Regions from separate parts of the Homo sapiens genome. Here region 1 is linked to region 2. Evidence: promoter capture Hi-C in 16 types of primary human blood cells and fetal thymus (Javierre and others, 2016). All regions are on one chromosome and are shown on one strand. The core of a region is centred on a gene start or on the middle of the fragment in contact, and the rest is flanking DNA. Distances in the headings are between cores, read along the strand shown. Region 1 overlaps RIMKLB (ribosomal modification protein rimK like family member B). Region 2 holds the start of A2ML1 (alpha-2-macroglobulin like 1).

Region 1 (2,891 bases), core at 251-2,750, 110 kb after region 2:
GGTGTGATCTAGGCTTGCTGGAACCTCCGCTTCCCGGGTTCAAGTGATTATCCTGCCTCAGCCTCCCAAGTAGCATGTGCCACCATACCTAGCTAATTTCTTCCAGAAGGCGGAAAGGTTGCAGTGAGCCGAGATCACGCTATTGCACTCCAGCCTGGGCAACAAGAGAGAAATTCCGTCTCACGCGCACAAAAAAGAAGATAAGGACCAGGCTCATTAAAATGAAAAATATATAAACACTATGGCTTCCCTACAGCAGGATATTCCATGCATATTACAGGCAGTAAACCTTATCCTCCCTCCTCCTTAAACAGAGTGTTTCTGATAAACTTTTTCTCCTATGAAACTTTTCTTGAAAAGAGATTTCCATTTTAACCACAGTATGGGAAAGGTACAGTGCAAACCTGCACTGTCAATTCAACCTGATGGAACGACTTTTTTTATGGGTTGCATTTCGGTCTCTTCCCTGCGGACAATCATAGGGAAGGCCACAGTGTGTCCCTGACCAGACGCTGTACCCAAAGACATACTATGCTCATTAGAAAAAAGTTATAGCCACACAGTGCCTTCCAGGCCACTTGGGAAGGTCTCAGAAAGCAAAGCTCCACAAAAGAAAAAGTCACGCCAGAATACCTGACGTAGAATATCCCCAGCTCCCCTTGATGAAGGAATTGTAAAAATGCCCTTAAAATGTTTGGGGGAGGGGGGAGGGATAGCATTGGGAGATATACCTAATGCTAGATGATGAGTTAGTGGGTGCAGCGCACCAGCATGTCACATGTATACATATGTAACTAACCTGCACATTGTGCACATGTACCCTAAAACTTATAATAATAAAAAAAAAAAGTTTGTAATCAGTAGTGATTAAAAGACTCTGTCACTGACTTCCAACACTCTGAAGCTATGTCCGTGCCTTGGCCTGACACTCGGCTCTTGAAACTCATCCGTTTGCAGATGATTTTTTTTTTCTTTCTGAGACATGGTTTCAGTCACCCAGGCTGGAGTGCAGTGGTGCAATCATAGCCCATTGCAGCCTCAAACTCCTCGGCCTAAGTGATCCACCTGTCTCCTCTGCCTCCCAAGTAGCTGAGATGACAGGAGCAAATCACATCAGGCTAATTTTTTTTTTTTCCTTGAGATGGAGTCTTGCTCTGCCACCCAGGCTGGAGTGCAGTGGCGCAACCTTGGCTCACTGCAACTTCTGTCTCCTGGGTTCAAGCAATTCTCCTGCCTCAGCCTCCTGAGTAGCTGGGATTACAGATGCCCACCACCATGCCCAGCTAATTTTCGTACTTTTCTCTTTTTAGTAGATATGGGGTTTTGCCATGTTGCCCAAAATGATGGAATTATAGGCGTGAGCCAACAGGCCCGGTCTCTAATTTTTTTTTTTTTTTTTTTTTTTTGGTAAAGATGTGGTCTCACTACGTTGCCCAGACTGATCTCAAACTCCTGGCCTCAACCAATCCTCCCACTTTGGCCTCCCAAAGTGCTGGGGTTATGGCTGTGAGCCACCATGCCTTGCCAATCAATGATTAATTTCATTGCACAGTGGGTCTTCACCTGAGTGTGGCAGTTGCTGCCCCAATAGCAGTCAGGATGGAATGTTATAGTCACTAGCAATTGGGAAGCAGAAATGTTCCGCTGCTGATACATCAGTAGTCAGAAATTACATGGGCTACAACAGTGTTCCCGATGATTCTGAAATCAGAAAATAATATTCCCCTCTGAAGAGCCACAAAGCCTTCAGTCAACATGTTTTTCTAGGCCAGGCATGATGGCTCCTGCCTGTAATCCCAGAACTTTGGAAGGCCAAGGTGGGCGGATCACTTGGTCAGGAGTTTGAGACCAGCCTGGCCAATATGGCAAAACCCTGTCTTTACTAAAAATACAAAAATGAGCCAGGTGTGGCAGTACATGCCTGTAATCCCAGCTACTCGGGAGGCTGAGGCAGGATAATCGCTTGAACCCAGGAGGCGGAGGTTGTAGTGAGTGGAGATCGTGCCACTGCTCTCCAGCCTGGGTGACAGAGCGAAACTCCATCAAAAAAAAAAAAAAAAAAAAGAAGGAAACAAACAAACAAACAAACAAAACTGGCGGGGAGCGGTAGTTCATTTTGGGAGGCTGAGGTGGGCAGATCACTTGAGGTCAGGAGTTCAAGACCAGCCTGGCTGACATGATTAAGACTCCATCTCTACTAAAAATACAAAAAAAAAAAATAGCCGGGTGTGTTGGTGCATGCTTGTAAACCCAGCTACTCAGGTGGCGGAGGCAGGAGAATCACTTGAATCTGGGAAGTCGAAACTGCAGTGACCCCAGATGATGCCACTGGACTCCAGCCTGGAAAACAGCAAGACTCCATCTCAAAACAAAACAAAACAAAAACCACATTTTTCTACATTAAATCTCTGATTACCAGGTACAGTAGTCCCTCCATATCCACAAGGGATAATTCCAAGACCCCCAGTGGATGCCTGAAACTGCAGATAGTACATATACTATGTTTTTTCCTAAACATACATATCTATGATAATTTGCATATTAGGCACAGTAAGATGTTAGCAATAAAATAGAACAATTATAACAATATACTATGATAAAAGTTATATGAATGCGGTGTCTCTCCCACTCTCAAAATATCCTGTTGTACTGTGTCAGGGCGTAACTGAAACCACAGAAAGTGAAACCAGGGAAAGTGAAACCTGTCCAGTGGTACACTGCCATTCCCACAGGAGGACATGCGGCTAGCCTTCCTCGGTGCCCAAGCGATGGGGCCTCCCCAAGGGCTGCTGCAGCAACAGCTGCTTGCCTTCTTAGGGGTGCTCCAACTGGATTCACATCTGAGATGCCAGAAGTGTTGGGTGAAGACTTCAATCCCAAAGGTAGAGGCT
Region 2 (2,700 bases), core at 123-2,622:
CTGCACTCCTTTTTTTCCAAAGCCTACTGTCAAACCACAAATCCCCTCTTTACCCCTGTGCACAGCGGTTTCCCCAGGTTTTAGTCGAACCCCAAATATGTGACTCTTACCTTGCTGCCCTGGGGTGTAGAGAGGTTTGTCAGTCTGTACAAAGGTGCCGTTCCCCTGCCTCTGAATTAGAACCTTTTTCTTCTCCTCAAAGCTGATGTTATTTCCAACTCCCGACACCCGGATTGTGGCCACTTCTTCTGTGCCACCAGCAGGAGGTGGTACCTGACCAAGAAAGGGGACTTCTGGGGAGGGGTAAGGGATTGGGGGAACAGAATCAACTGGTCTCAACCCAACAGTGAGTTAAAGGAAAGAGCTGAGTTAGATGGGGGTAGCAAGGATAGAGACATAAAACAAATTACCACGAGGAAGAATTAAGGTCAGGAACTAAAGGGAGAAATCCTAGGTCGAGGAAACCGTGGGTGAGTTATAGCCGGGGATTGAGGTTAAGTTGAGAAAAAATAGGTTTAGAGGCCGTGGCAAAAGATAACAGAAATTATACTTAAAGTAGATTATAGTGAGCCTAGGGAGGAGAATAGGCAAGTAAGGGATTCGAGTGAGGGCTGAGTCTGTGCTTACAAGAAAGGAGATACAATGTAAGTGCCTCTTCTTCAGTCCAGAGTATTCTAGCAACTTCTGGGTCTTGTCCTTGGTCTCCAGAGTAACCGTGAATTTAACATCACTGTACCCAGGGCTCAGGTCCAAACAAACCTTCTGAACGGAGGGGAAATTTAGCCGGGCTGGTAATGTCACCAGGTAGTTTCTATTAAAGGAGCAGAAGGATTTCAGGGCAATAATGATTCATTCACTCGAAAAATCCAGCACTCTCCTAAGCGCTCAGCAAGTAGCAGTGAATTAGACAGACCAAGCCCCTGCCTTCCTTATGCACCTCATTTTCTACAAGAAGCAGAGGGGCAACGACTCAGTGCACAGTCTTCAACTTCCGCCATCAGGAGGCCCTCACCGAGCACACATGCCTAGAGCACCAAGGAGGAAATTAGGCCTATTTCAGAAAACAGGGCACATTTTAATATTTATCTTTTTTAAAGCTTCCTCTTCATGCGTCAGCCTCCCTCTCTGGGTAAAGGATCAGTGGAACCAAAGAAGAGAAAAAAGGAGGAGGAAATTAAGATAAACCAAAGTTGATCTCCCCATCTCCATATAAATGTTTGAGAAAGTTAGGCGAAGAAGCCGCTGCCCTAATAAACCAATTCTGACACCAAGCACTCACGGAAGTTCTTCTGCAATGGCTGGTGATAGGGCCAACATTCCTAGAAGGAGCTGAGCCCACATCTTTGTGGGTGAGACAGATTTTTCCAGGGTCAGGGGCAGAGATCGCTCCGCGTAGCTTTATATACTAATTCCAGGTAGGGTGTGCAGTGATGACTGATGCTATAGTCAGTCACCTCCTGGCACCTGGAACACAGGAGGACTGTGTTCCTCCTTCTGTAACCACCAGGTTAGGTGGTGGACCAGGGTAGGGCCACTATTCACTTCTTTAAAGTTGTTTCTGCCTGGAACATCCATACTGGTTCAGCCAGTTTTGGGGGAAAACCAGAGCTGAGTATTCATAATGGTAAAGCTCTCAGAACATATTTTGAACTCCTCCCTTTTTTTCTGGTCTCATTCCAATTCCTGTTCTCATTTAATGTCCTTATTTTCTTTTATTATTCAATTAAGGTGTAGTTGGGAACACGGGTATGAGAACAGTTTCAATAGAAAAGCAGTAAACTTGGCCGGTCACAGTGGCTCACGCCTGTAATCCCAGCACTTTGGGGGGTTGAGGTGGGCAGATCACCAGGTCAGGAGTTCAAGACCAGCCTGGCCAACATAGTGAAACCCTGTCTCTACTAAAAATACAAAGAAAAAAAAATCAGCTGGGCATAGTGGTGGGTGCCTATAGTCCCAGCTACTTGGGAGGCTGAGGCAGGAGAATCGCTTGAACCCGGGAGGTGGAGGTTGCAGTGAGCCGAGATCATGCCACTTTACTCCAGCGTGGGTGACACAACGAGACTCTGTCTCAAAAAAAAAAAAAATTAATACTACTCAGTATTGTTGTGACTGTATGGAAATAGGGACACACACAGTCCTAGAGAAAATAGAATGTGGATAACTTTCTCATGGCAATTTTGTAATACACACCAAAGCCTTTGAGATTTGCATATTCTTTCACTCAGCAACTCCTACTCTGGAAATGTTTCTTAATGAGGAAAAAAAGGACAGCATGCATGTATGCACAAGTGTAACACTGAGTTTTTTCACACTGTTCTTTCTTTTTTTTCTTTTCTTTATTTTTTATTTTTTTGAAGTAGAGTCTCACTTTATCACCCAGGCTGGAGTGCAGTGGCACAATCTCAGCCCACTGCAGCTTTGACCTCCTGGGCTCAAGCGATCCTCCCACCTCCACCTCCTGAGTAGCTGGGACCACAGGTAGGCACCAACACTCCTGGCTAATTGTTTTGTATTTTTAATAGAGACAGGGTTTCACCATGTTGCCCAGGCTAGTCTCGAACTCCTGAGCTCCAGGGACCACCTCAGCCTCCCAAAGTGCTGGGATTACAGGTATGAGCCACCGTGCCCAGCCCACAGTGTTCTTTATGATGGTAATACTTAGAAGTCACCTAAAATATAAATTAGTCTAAGTGCAGTGGC

The links. The method cuts DNA at HindIII sites, captures the fragments that hold promoters and counts their contacts. A CHiCAGO score of 5 or more calls a contact.
Region 1: a fragment that was not itself captured here is called in contact with the fragment with the promoter of A2ML1 in region 2 in 3 of 17 cell types (erythroblasts, M2 macrophages and naive B cells); the score reaches 7.6 in erythroblasts.

The regions. Positions count from the first base shown.
Region 1 is chr12:8,709,481-8,712,371 of GRCh38, reverse strand. The region is part of intron 1 of RIMKLB (ribosomal modification protein rimK like family member B); the gene reads right to left. Among named protein-coding and RNA genes, the nearest start is that of RIMKLB, 13 kb to the right of the region's middle. The HindIII fragment of the contact is 4,798 bases long and covers 1-2,891 here.
Region 2 is chr12:8,821,293-8,823,992 of GRCh38, reverse strand. A2ML1 (alpha-2-macroglobulin like 1) reads right to left here and starts at 1,372. Exons shown (of 36, transcript NM_144670.6): 1 at 1,280-1,372; 2 at 628-811; 3 at 111-273. The coding sequence starts at 1,341. The region is part of intron 1 of A2ML1-AS1 (A2ML1 antisense RNA 1); the gene reads left to right. The HindIII fragment of the contact is 3,171 bases long and covers 1,100-2,700 here.